Regions from separate parts of the Homo sapiens genome. Here region 1 is linked to region 2. The links are contacts of gene promoters, found by promoter capture Hi-C in blood cells and fetal thymus (Javierre and others, 2016). All regions are on one chromosome and are shown on one strand. The core of a region is centred on a gene start or on the middle of the fragment in contact, and the rest is flanking DNA. Distances in the headings are between cores, read along the strand shown.

Region 1 (7,224 bases), core at 330-2,829, 42 kb before region 2:
TATCAACACTCCCATTTATTGGTATGAAATTTTTGTCTTATTCCATTTTGTGCTGCTATGTCAGAATACTACAAACTGAGTGATTTATAAACAATTGAAATTTGTTTGATTCATAGTTCTGGAGGCCAGAAAGTTCAGGGGGCTGGCATCTGGTAAGGGCCTTCTGGCTGAATCATAACATAAAGAAAGGTATCACATGGTGAGAGAGATCAAACTCATAGCCTCAAGCTCTTTTATAATCCACATTAACCCATTCATAAGGGTGGAACCCTTATGACCTAAACACTTCCCATTAAGCCCCACTTCCCAAAACTTTTGCATTTAGAATTAAGCTTCCTTCACATTGTTTTTTAGAGGACACATTTAATCCATATAAATAACTAAGAAATACTGACCCCTGAAATAGGTCTTTGCCAAACACAGGCTGTGACCAGAAACATACCAGAATGCCCAGCCCTGGAAACTGTGGCTTCAGTGGCCTGTCATTTTTTTTTTTAGACAGAGTCTTGCTCTGTTGCCCAGGCTGGAGTGCAGAGAGGTGCGATCTGGGCTCACTGCAAGCTCCGCCTCCTGGGTTCACGCCATTCTCCTGCCTCAGCCTCCCGAGTAGCTGGGACTACAGTCACCCGCCACCATGCCCGGCTAATTTTTTGTATTTTTTGTAGAGGTGGGGTTTCACCGTGTTATCCAGGATGGTCTCGATCTCCTGACCTCGTGATCTGCCCAGCTCAGCCTCCCAAAGTTCTGGGATTACAGGCGTAAGCCACCACACCCAGCCTGTCATTCTGATTGCCCTAGGGTGCGTCACCAACTGAGCCGGTATCTAGCCCCCAAAGTTTAACCAATTAGTAAAGTTCATTATTAATATTGTAACAACTAGAAAACTTGGGCAAAGAACAATGTGGCAAACACCAGAAAGCACAGAAACAAGCAACAAGGCTAAAGCACAAGCTTGCCATAGGTGGAAGTTCTGTACCAAGCCTCTTTTATGGTGGACTGGAATTGATTCACAAGCCAAGTGAAGTCCCTCCCTGCAGCCATGCAAGATTCCGTGGTCATGGCCATCCTGTTTGAGATGCCAACTGCTTTTTAAGATTAAACAATTATTTTGATGGCAGGACACAACACAATAACACTCAAATAGAAGAGAAGTAGAAGTTTTTGTTATATACAGCTCCAAAGGAGAGGAGATTGCCAGGTAGGGTGAAACAGGGGATTGCATCAGAAGACAGGGTAAGGTAATAGCAACATGGAACTGTAGGGGGAAACTTACATATGGCAAATAGGGTGGGGTTAGCTAGGTTTTGTGAACTCCTCATGGATTGTCTAATTTGAATACTCTTTTAGGCCCCAGGGTATAGGAGCTGTCCCTAGATGTCTGGTACCTGAATCCGGTGCACTTAAGGCTGATGCATGATGGCCCAGAGGGTGAGATTCTAATAAGGAAAGTGGTTGGGGTACGGACTTACTGAGCTGTTTAAGAAGAGGAACTGACCAGCCTCTAGCAAGAACCTCAAAATTGAGTGAAGATTAAAAACAATCAAACAAATGAAAACCCCACTATATAACATAGATATTCTGTCCTAGCTAACTCGATGACACAGGATGAACCTCTCACCCAAAACTGGGTTTAGATATCCGAATTGATAAGACTCACACACAACTCAAGAGGGTATAAATATGTTTACTGCTCACATAATGAAGATTTCCGGGGAAAGCAAGGCAGCTCCAAAGCAGGTCCAAAAATGGCTTAAGAGAATGAAAAAAGAAAATGGACTTGTGGTTTTGAAGGTAGTTAGGAGTGTGGCTGGGATGAGCATTCCATTGCATGGTTTTAATTTCCTGCTCCTGCACCAAAGGATGGAGTACCCACATTTTCTTATCATATTGTCTATATGTGAGGTAGAAATGGAAGCGTGAGCTATGGAACTTGAAAGCTGTCAGAAGTCAAATATCAAAAATGAATGATGCCTTTTAGACACATAGCTTGAACTACAGAATATGGCTGAACTATGATGCAAGATAAACACCTGCCTTTATTGTCCAAGATTAAACAAAGTATCTCCTTAAGGCATTTCAGCCCCGCATCAACTATAGCTTCTAGAGACCATAGACTTCTACCAATTTTTCATTCGTTGCAAAAAAGTAATTGAGAGATTGAGAGGCTACATAGGGACTGCAAGATAGCAAGCAAGGCCTTTTGGAATATAAGCTTTTAGGTGTTAAAGTTGCATTTTAGCTTTAGGTTTGAAATTGCATTTATTAGTGTACTTAGGCAAATTTCATGTTGAATATGAATGAATATTGCATTTTCATGAATGAATATTACAATTTACATTTTTATATCTGTGGTTACTGTAGTTTTTATTCTTTATCCTTTCTAATAAGTTTCATAGATTTTTACAAAAAGAGTTATCAATTTTGACATTATTGACAGGAAATGCATAAGAAGCAAGTTTGTTCCATTTGGATTGTACAATCTTTTTTTAAAAAATTGTGTTCTGCCTGGGCACGGTGGCTCATCACTGTAATCCCAGCCCTTTGGGAGGCCGAGGCGGGTGGATCATGAGGTCAGGGGATCGAGACCACCCTGGCTAACACGGTGAAACCCCATCTCTACTAAAAATACAAAAAATTAGCCGGGCGTTGTGGCGGGTGCCTGTAGTACCAGGTACTTGGGAGGCTGAAGCAGGAGAATGGAGTGAAACCGGGAGGTGGAGCTTGCAGTGAGCCAAGATCGCACCACTGCACTCCAGCCTGGGCGACAGAGCAAGACTCCATCTCCAAAAACAAAACAAAACAAAACAAAACTGTTTTCTACTACTATATCCTCAACACAGATAACTTCTGATATCAGATATGTGGGGATCTCTCCCCATACACCACGAAATTCTCTAGCAAACTCACAAAAGCTAGGAAAACAGTTTACTTATTATTGCTAACTTATTACAAAGGGCATTTCAAAAGATACAGATGAATAGCCACATAAAGAGATACATAGGGTGAGGTCTAGAAAGGTCCCAAATGCAGGAGCTTCTGGCCTCATGGAATTGGGGTGTGCCACTCTCCTGACACGTGGAAATGTTTCTATTCATTAGCCCGGAAGCTCCCCAAGCCCCATACGTTAGGGATTTTTCTATTTTTTTTTTTTTTTTGCTGGATGCATCATCACATAGGGATGATCAATTATTAACTCAATTTCAAGCCCAATTAGTCATTAACAGTCAGTCCATTTCATCACACAGTGTGACCAGAATGTTTCCTAGAGGGATGCCACTCAGGTTTGCAGGCTGCCATTCAACTTTGTCAGGTTTCAAAAGCAGGGGTGGTCTTGGAAAACACATTGCTTCACCCTTCTGGGCATCTGGTATAATTGTGCTAGGAGATAATATCATTCTCTTGCTCTGAGCCTCTCTTGAGGTATTAATACAACATTAGGCTTCTCTCATTGCATAATCCACTTATTTAGTCTTTTACCCTCAGCTATTATTTCTCCTTCTCTCCATTTGACATTTATTTTTACTCAAACTCTCCACCTTTTAGAGGGATAATGTGCTCAACCACTGTCTTGGTCTACAGTACTGCTAGCAATACTATTCTACCAAGTGCCTTGCTCTCAGCTCAGTCCCACTGATACAGGCTGAGGTTACATAGAGATAAAAATACGAGCTATTCTAACCACTAGGAAACATGGTAGCATTCACTGTCAACCCCAACTGTGCCAGTCCATCCTTCAGGCTTTTGGAAATTCTGGCCTAAAGTTTAAAGGTATAGGTATAGTTTCTTGCTTAGGAATCAGCCTGCTTCCAGTACCTGCAGTTGCACCCCTGGTCTTGGAATCACTGCATCAGGTAGGAAAAAAGACAACTGAGGAGATATGGGGAAGAATTGTGTAGTTGTATTAGAATCCTTCCCCAACCTCTTGGTATGGTTTGGATTTGTGTTCCCTCCAAATATCATGCTGAAATGTGACCACCAATGTTAGAGGTGGGCCTAGTGGGGGGCATTTGGGTCATGGGATTGGATCCCTTATGAATGGCTTAGCATCATACTCTTGATGATGAGTGAGTTCCTTCTCAGTTACTTCACACAAGATCTGGTTGTTTACAAGAGTCTGGGAGTTCCTCTTCTCTCTCTTGCTGCCTCTCTCACTGTGTGACGTGCTGGCTCTCCCTCACCTTCTGTCATGATTGTAAGCTTCCTAAGACCCTCACCTGAAGCAGATGCCAGCACCATGTTTCCTGTACAGCCTGCAGAACTGCGAGACAAAATAAACCTCATTTTCTTTGTAAATTACTCAGCCTCAGGTATTTCTTTACAGTGTAATCAAAATGCTGGTTCAGTCACTCACCACTTGCAGAGCCCAACTGATAAGAGTGAAGTTTGGTATAAAGAAAGTGACTTTGTATTCCAAAGCTAGCTTAGGGGAAAAATTTCCAGCTTCCTGCTTTTAGGGTATCACTTCACTTTTGGAGAAGAATGTGAGCACATTGAAAGGGTACCTAACATGAACAGCATGTGGGTGGTGGGAAAGCAAGCAGGTGAGGGGTCTGCATGTTAGCTTAGTGTTTTATCTACAGCGTGGTCAAGCTGGTGACTGCTGGCATCTTCACGGGCAGGCATACTTTGGGTTGTAAATTGACTGTTATCTCTCGAGGCAACCTGCTGGTGGGTTAGAATTCCTTTTGGGATCTCCTAAGCATGTAGTTAGATGAACTTGCTCTGTAGGGAGTGTCTGGTGAAGGGCAGGTAAAATGCTATATTTGTAATCCTAAAGGGCTAAATAGAAATTGGGGAAAATGAGGAAAGAGAAAAGAAGAGAGAAAGATAATTAAACTCTCTCTTTGAAAAATGGGGGCACTTGGTTACAATTTCCTACTGCCAAGTTCCATTTTTTTTTTCTGTGGGATTTTTGTGTCATATTTATTCTGGCTACTTCCTGCTGAAAGAGGGTATACTCATTGGGTGTCAGGATGAAACTGATCTCTTTGGAGTTGGAAATATTCACAATACCTGGACTTACAGAGGATACTTTTGGACCATTATGGTGCAAGGTCTCTGGGAAAGCCTGTTGTGTATTCTTATTACAGAGGGTGCAACAGCAGAAAACTTCACAACAGAGGGAAATGTCTACTGCAACCAGGGCCAATGTTACAAGCAGCTTTTTCCACCAGGATGGTCCTGACCTGAACCAGGACACTAACCATTGGTCAAGTGACAATGTGGGATAAGGCATAGCTTTGTTTTATTGGTGCATATCTTGCAGGGCTATCTGAGACATTTTCCAAATTGCCTGGGATGTATACACAGAAGTTAGTCTTAATTATAAGGCATGCTCCCCATTTCTAATAGTAACTGGTTGTGATGAAAGATTGGCTAAGTGTATATTCAACAGGTTACAGGAAGAACTGTGAATACTCATGAAGGCAGTCATAATCCTGTCTAGTTCTTGAGAGTAGATTAGTTTTGTAGTTGCATCCCATCTAGGAAGTGACATTGCAGATGGGTGAGGCCTCTGTATATAATGAAGGCAAACAGATTTTTAATAAGAGACATTTCTATGGAAACAGAAGAAAGACAAAGTGTAATGTTAGGCACAATTTATCCATATGTCAGACTCAAAGCATCTTCAGTTATAGAGAGGGAAGGTGGTGGCAGTCTGACAATTTTTTCTTGCCTGTATTACAAGGAATAATGTAATAGTCATTTCATTTAGTCAAAATCTGAAAAACGGAAGAAAAATTTAAAAGTGTTAATTTGAGACTTATATCCCAGAAAGAATTCAGGATTCAGGCCGAATTGCATAGAATAATAAAAAAACAGTGGTCAAGACTGGAGTCTACCAAGTGTACTATAGTTTTTAACCGAAACATATTATTCTCTGTTCAGTCCCAGTTTTTACTAAAGACAAATCATAATAGGAACAATTGATTTGCAAAATAAGTTTTAGTCTTATTACGCTTGACCTGAGTATTTGCAAATAGTGCAGCAAGAATGATTATTGGCCACATACGTTCTTTTTAAATTTGGCTTTGCTGAAACTTTATTCCATAAGGAATCTCAAATTAGACTTTAAAAGCATTTTGAGCCCAGCCATGGCTTTATCTGTGCCTGCAAATATTTGTATGAATTGAGTGAATTCCTCTGCTTGTGGTCCCAAGATAATTTGGGACTCCTTGCTCTGTCAGAAAGTGACATTCTTTACTTACCATAGGCCAGAAACCCTGAGCAGGGACTGCCTAGACAAAGTATGGGGCCAAATTTCCCAAGAAGCTTTTATTGGCTTTATAAGTCAACTTTGATTCTTTAAAAGAGTCTGTTTGTATCTGAAAGTATGCCATTCCAGTCAAAGCCTTGGTAAATAACCAGTTTCTCCAATTGTGTCCTGTTACAAAAGAAAACAGATTCTTATTGGATTAGGCAAATAACTAGACTGCCATAAATTAAATATGCTTACAAGTAGTTCTTACATTCTGGGGAAATCAGGGTAGAGAGAAAGAAATGTCCCTCAAGTTTTGCTTAACGGAAGTGTATTTTACCCAATTGTTAAAAGCTGCAAATAGCTTAAGAGAAAGATTTTTAGACACTGAAAAGCAAAACAAAAAGAATCACTAAATGTTTTAAACAAAAAGAATCACTAAATGTTTTAAACAAAAAGTCACAAAAGATTATTTCGCTCTTCTATTAGTTCAGTCTATGTAATTAACTCCTGTTCTGTGTGATATTCCTGAACACATTGGCTCTCTATGGGAGTCTTGGAAGTTTATTTCTTCTATTTTAATGTCACAATTTCCAAAGTTATGAGAAATTTGCATTCAAGAGTGCCTGTCAGAGTCCTATATCTGTATTATAAAGCTGCCTTTGAAAAGAATCAAAGTAAAATAACTGTTATGGATGATAAAAATCTCAGAGCAGTCACAGTTAAAATCTGGTCATCTCTGTGGCACACATAATTTAATAGAGCTATCATAATTATTACTGATAACATATACTGAGACATAACAATTATATGAATCTTATACAATTTTGGAACACATACTAATAACACACTTACATGAATATATCCTAAAGAAAGTTAAATACTATTTTATATTTGACAATGTTTACTTTGTGATTTTAATATACCAAATAAGTCCCATATGTCTCTTTTGGGCTTGAGAAAACCTAGTATCTAATAGGATTAACCAGATCAAAAAAGGCTTAATTTAGAATTTAACTTTGGAA
Region 2 (6,816 bases), core at 1,050-3,549:
GCTGCAAGTCTTTTTCTTGTAAAAATCACTGGGGCTGACAAACAAATCCTGATAAAGAGAAAGTTTGTTTCAGAAAGTTCAAGTGAGGCAGACTTTGGGACAGCTTGCATGCAAAATATAAAACTTGGTAACTATGAAAAGGAGAAAGATAAATCCAACATTTCCTACATTCACGATGAATAATCAGCACCATTTTCAAATAATTATCAAATTAGGAAAAGACTACCTTTTAAAAACATTGAGCCTTCTACTGACCGACTATAAAGACTATATATAAAGTATCCCACAATTTATTTAGGTCTTCTGAAGCTAAAATGTTTTTAATTTTATTGTATAACCTTAATTAGTTTAATTCCTAGGTTAGCTAACTTTTAATGTTGTTATGAATGTTATTAATTTTAAATGTTTACTTCAAATGTTATTGATGATAGAGAAATAAAAATGATTTTCATATATTGGACTCCTGTCCAGTGTCCTTGCTAAATGTACCTATTAAATCTAATAGCTTATCTGTAAATTATTCTCAATTTTCTGTTGCATTCCATCAATAATTTCTTTCCAGTTATAACATCTTTTATTTCTTTGCTATTACACTAGCTAGGACTTGCAATAATAAATACAGATTTTTTTTGCCTTTAGATTTATTTCAGAGAGAAAGTTTTAGAGACCTTTATTTAGATAATTATCTAAATTACAGATGTAATTTAACAGATCCATATTCACATGTATTTCTGCTCCTGTCATTTTTACTAATAGATGTTTCCACCAATATGACTATTTCATGTAACTTTTCAAGTTTTATCTCCTAACTTTGTTCCTGATATTCTCTAATGATTTTTAATGTCTGTTATTAATGTAGTGATAACATATTTGAAATTACTGATCTTGGGTATTAGAGCCTTCTTCATTTTTCCTTGATAAATTTCACCAGAAATTATCTGGCTTCAATAAGCAGTTTAAGGGATTTTACTTAATTTATTTCCCTTATTTAATATTTGTTTTTCTTCATTGCTTTTCTTGCCCTTATTATTTGCTTCATTCTGCTTTCATTGCTTTTACCTACTTAATTATAATTTAATTTGTTGACTTGGGTGATTATAAATATTCAGATATGTTTCCACTTTACAGATTTAGGCAACAAAATTTCCTCAAAGAAACTTATAGAAAAAAAATCCAATAATATATAAAATGATATATCATGACAGAAGGGCTTCTTATTAGAAACAAATTGGTTAGTTAAATATTTGAAACTCATAGCTGCAAATAATCACATTAAGAGAATAAAGGGAAAAACAAAATTGTCTCAAAAAATGTATAAAACTACATAACAGAATTCAGTATGCAGTCATGATACGTACTCTCAGCAAAGTAGGAATACAAAAAAATGATTAATCTACTACATTTATCTGCAAAAATGACAAAACGCTCATACATGGAAATTAAAGACCATTCCTTTGTGGATAATATGGCACAGGATATGTTATGAAAGGCTGTCCTGCCACAACACAGCACAGATGGGGTTGAAAGAAAGGAAGGGAAACAAAGGGCTGCCATGAATTAAACCAGTAGAGAAAATAAAAGCCTGGGTCATGCAGGGGACAGTGTCTTATTAGGCCAGCATCAGGACTGGTTGAAGTCTGGCGCTTCTAACACAGTGGGAAAATGAGCATAGTAATCACAATAAAGAAAGACATCTGAAAGGTGCTAACTTAGCCTCGGATCAGAAGTGCTCTCTGCTAATGCCTTGCTGGTGAAAAGCGTATCCAGTGTAAGCCCTCAGAAATCCCAGAAAACAAAGACCAAAAGAAACGGCGCCTTGTCAACCGAACGAATTGAAAAAAGCTTCCTGCCGCGATCGGGCATTAAAAGAAAAAAACCACAGACATAAGATGGAGTGAATAAAAAAAGAATTTATATAATTCATGGATGAAATGTTTCAGAATCTATAGGATTATATTTTTTTTAAGGCAGACAGATACGAAAATACAACGAAGCGTGCATGACCGAAACCAGAAGAGATTAAAGTAAAACCTCATTCTCCTGAGGAAATCGTGTGAGAAGGGACTTAGGGACTGCCGGAACACAGCGAAGCAGAGGCAGAAGGCAGACAAAAGGGGCTGGGTTGGTCCCCGCCTGTGTGAACGAAAAAATATGTCAGATTGGAAAATTGCGGTAAAAACCAGGCAGAGCACGTACGTTGCCCCCACAGGAAGTGTCCGCCATGCTGCCTGTGCCCGGAAGTAGGTAGGAACACACAGTCAGAGGGACCCAAAAGCAGGGGGGAAGGAAAAAGAGATGCACACTTCCCCCAGAGAAGCCTCCGAGCGCGGCCGCCATTCCGGGCCTCAAGCCCATAAAGAAAAAATACCGGAGAGGTTCTGGCACCATTTCGGGGTGCCAAAGCAGCCATGGAAGAGCCTGCAGCTCCCTCAGAAGCCCACGAGGCAGCCGGGGCCCAGGCAGGTGCTGAGGCAGCAAGGGAGGGTGTGTCTGGGCCGGACCTTCCCGTCTGTGAGCCCTCCGGGGAATCTGCTGCTCCAGATTCAGCCCTGCCACATGCGGCAAGGGGCTGGGCCCCCTTCCCTGTAGCTCCAGTCCCTGCCCACCTCCGCAGAGGAGGCCTGAGGCCTGCCCCAGCCTCAGGAGGAGGAGCCTGGCCCAGTCCGTTGCCAAGCCGAAGCAGCGGCATTTGGACAAAGCAGATCATCTGCAGGTATTATATACATGGGCAGTGCAAGGAGGGGGAGAACTGTCGCTATTCGCACGACCTTTCTGGTCGGAAGATGGCCACTGAGGGTGGCGTTTCGCCGCCTGGGGCCTCTGCAGGTGGAGGCCCTAGCACGGCTGCGCACATCGAGCCCCCGACTCAGGAAGTGGCGGAAGCCCCCCCGGCTGCATCCTCCCTTTCCTTGCCTGTGATTGGCTCGGCTGCTGAAAGGGGTTTCTTTGAAGCCGAGAGAGACAATGCAGACCGTGGAGCTGCTGGAGGAGCAGGTGTAGAAAGCTGGGCGGATGCCATTGAGTTTGTTCCAGGGCAGCCCTACCGGGGCCGCTGGGTTGCATCTGCCCCCGAGGCTCCTCTACAGAGCTCAGAGACTGAGAGGAAGCAGATGGCTGTGGGCAGTGGGTTGCGGTTTTGCTATTATGCTTCCAGGGGAGTTTGCTTTCGTGGGGAGAGCTGTATGTACCTCCATGGAGACATATGCGACATGTGTGGGCTGCAGACCTTGCACCCCATGGATGCTGCCCAGAGGGAAGAACATATGAGGGCCTGCATTGAAGCACACGAGAAAGATATGGAACTCTCGTTTGCTGTGCAGCGTGGTATGGACAAGGTGTGTGGCATCTGCATGGAGGTTGTCTATGAGAAGGCCAACCCCAATGACCGCCGCTTTGGCATTCTTTCCAATTGCAACCATTCCTTCTGTATTAGGTGTATCCGCAGGTGGAGAAGTGCCAGACAGTTTGAGAACAGGATCGTCAAGTCTTGCCCACAGTGCAGGGTCACCTCTGAATTGGTCATTCCCAGTGAGTTCTGGGTGGAGGAGGAGGAAGAGAAGCAGAAACTTATTCAGCAATACAAGGAGGCAATGAGCAACAAGGCCTGCAGGTATTTTGCGGAAGGCAGGGGTAACTGCCCATTTGGAGACACATGCTTTTACAAGCATGAATACCCTGAGGGCTGGGGAGATGAGCCTCCTGGGCCAGGTGGTGGGTCATTCAGCGCATACTGGCATCAACTTGTGGAGCCTGTGCGAATGGGAGAGGGCAACATGCTCTATAAAAGCATTAAGAAGGAGCTTGTCGTGCTTCGGCTGGCCAGTCTGTTGTTTAAGCGGTTTCTTTCACTGAGAGATGAGTTACCCTTCTCTGAGGACCAGTGGGACTTGCTTCATTATGAGCTGGAAGAATATTTCAATTTGATTCTGTAGCATCGTGCTGTGGCATGTGGTCTAGTCTGCTGAGGTTCTGTCGTCTGCTATTGCCTGTTTTCCCTGTGTTGACACTCTTACTGCTTTCAGGGGCTGTTGAGGCAGTGCTTCTGTTTTCTTGTCTATTCTGCATATCTTTCCCCCTAGGATTATGGTGATTATCTGTGTTAAAAAATAAGTCCTTAAAGTTACTGTTTTGGTGAAATTAATATTAATGTCAGCTTATGGCTTTTTTTTGTCATCTCTGTTGTCAACAGGATTAACTCAGTTCTAGTGTAGTGTTTACTGAATTTCCACACTTATTTTGAAGACCCTCAAGAGTAAATGTGGCAGAGTGAAAGGAGAAGTTTTAATTGAACTAGTAGCTTTGTGCTATAATAGCCTTAACAAATGGACCCTTGCAGGGCTTTGCAGCTGCTCATCTGTTTGTTTACAGTTTGTTCTTTCCCTCCTTCCCCTTCAAGTGCACTTGTTAAACTGTGATGAACTTGTGATTTTGTGTTTTACTTGACCAAAACCAAGTGTATATGTTTACATGTTTTTATCCTGTTTAGCTTGACATGAAATAATTTATATTTGGAAATATATATTTAAGAATTATATATATAAAAATATATATGTATAAGAGTTATGTATTTGAAAAAAATATATAAAAGAATATACATCACAATATAATATTTATGTTTATGTAATAAAGTAAATACAGAGCTGAAAGCTGAAGGTCAAAGCCTAACAGGATTGGCTGTTGTGTGGATGTGAGTTGTGTGAATAATCTTTCTGTCCCTCGCACAGAAGCCAGTAATTAGCATCTAATGAAAAGGACTGTTCAAGTGGGTCTGGCCAAATGTGACAGATGCAGATCTTAGAGGACTTACAAAGCACTATATTGGTAATTCTTACAATGGCATTAATAGCTTACTCTATAAATACAGAAATGGTTTTCCTATGCAGTTTAGCCACCTTCTCATTAATTCTTTGTAACAGCAAATCCTAGGCTCAGAGGCACAGTGCTTTGTATTTGATATACAAAGTCTCTAGACTTTCCCAACAAGGGGCTTTTGACAAAAGAGTTCAACATAAAAGTAACAAGATTATAAAAGGGAAAATAGAACAAAAATATTAAAACCAATGAGAATAAAAGAATGGAAAGATAAAATAATAAAATATAGAAAGCACTAAAAACTAAGTGTAAGACTAATATAGAAAATCTACATACAACTTAATTAGATTAAATGAAAGCAGTTTAAAGACTGAAAGTCAAAGGCTATAAGACTTCATTACAATCAGAATGAAACATCCTGTTTAAAATACACACAACATGAAAATACAGAAACACTCAAAGTAGTAGGATGGGAAAAAGCCGAACAGGTGCTGTGGACTCTCTTGATTGTAGACAAAGTTTATAGTAAGGATAAACACTTTGCTGGAGATAAAAAGGAATGGTACATAAACATTAAATTGTAATTCACAGGAATATATAACTTCAAATTTTGTATACATTTAATAACATTGTATCAGATACACAACTGATGAAAATCCTAAATCCAGACTCTTAGTGGACAATTTTAATACATCTTTTTAGTAACCAAACAAGCAAAGAAAAAATGAATGTGAAAGAGAATGATGCCATTTTAATGATTTACCTGTACAACGTATGATCTGCATCAACTGCAAATGCACTTATCTTGGCTGAAGTAGCTGAAAAATATGCTGGGAGTCTGAATCTTGAGTCCCAGGTTATTCACACTGTCCTGACTGTCCAACAAAGATGGCACATTTACAGAGTTTATACCATGTACTTTGCATGCAAAAGGATGAATTTGTCAGAACTACCTAATGTGGTACTTGCTATAGTTTTTCTCATTATCATGATGAGGTAAATAATAGAGAATTTAAAGGTTTTGCCCGTAGAGTTTACGACCCATAGCTGTGAATTAGTGGAACAAAGACTGGAACTCAAGCAGTATTTGTCCAGAGCACTCGCACTTACCATGTTCACTAGGAGCAGGTCGACCAGCTGAATGTAGCTGCTGGAGATGCAAGTACAGCCTTTAAATATGGATGATTCAGCCAAGTGGAGCAAAGATGGACTTGAATAAGCTCCCACAGAATGTAGGAGCCATGGGGCTTTTATCTATAGGCTGCCAGCTCAGTGATTTTAGTCCACTGCTTCAGAGTGTGCCTCAGCCTCCTATACTTTTACATTGCCTCTCCCTTCTTACATGACTCCTGGTTCTCCTATTAAGTACCTCAGCCTATTTGCCTGGACCTTTTGCCATATTCCTTTCCTCTTGATTCCTCTTAGCCAAAGAATTCACCAATCAGGACACCCTTGATGCCTGACTATCACTGGCATGCAAGGTGAGTGACAGATTCCAAATAAATTCCAAACATCTGAGGTCCCTGCCCTGCAGTCGTGCAGGAGAAAGAGAGATTAGATGAACTAAACAACCAAAGAATGAGACCAGATGGTGCACTCTCAAAGACTGTGCCAACACCAAAGTCTCAGAAAATAGTGGCAAAGCTTTCAGAGAGGGGTTTTTAAGCTGAGCCCAGAAAGCTGTGGAAAGTTTCTCCAAATGTACACTTCCCTGCATTGTGAAATATTGTGTTTTTATTCAAATAGTATCTTGAACCAGATAATCATAAAGTTCAGTATTTATAGTAGGACAATCGTCAGTAGAAAATAAAGTGGCTTGAGAGACCAAGGATAGTTAGAATCCTGACTCTGCTTCTTACCAGCCATTCAGTTTCACAGTCTAAGCAAGTTACTTAAATTTTCTGTACTTCAGTTTCTTCATATGAGAAATGGGTACAGTTCCACCTACTTTTGCAGGATTGTTGTGAGGATCAAATGTAGTCTGGACAAAAAGCTTGAAACATA

Evidence for each region. Contacts are between HindIII fragments. The CHiCAGO score rates a contact against its expected background, and 5 or more counts as called.
Region 1: a contact is called between a fragment that was not itself captured here and the fragment with the promoter of MKRN3 in region 2, in 1 of 17 cell types (neutrophils). The highest score is 7.9, in neutrophils.

The regions. Positions count from the first base shown.
Region 1 is chr15:23,521,828-23,529,051 of GRCh38, forward strand. No RefSeq gene overlaps it. Among named protein-coding and RNA genes, the nearest start is that of MIR4508, 37 kb to the right of the region's middle. The HindIII fragment of the contact is 1,261 bases long and covers 950-2,210 here.
Region 2 is chr15:23,563,375-23,570,190 of GRCh38, forward strand. It overlaps MKRN3 (makorin ring finger protein 3), which reads left to right and starts at 2,300. Exons shown (of 1, transcript NM_005664.4): 1 at 2,300-4,670. The coding sequence starts at 2,409. The coding sequence ends at 3,932. The HindIII fragment of the contact is 4,614 bases long and covers 1,841-6,454 here.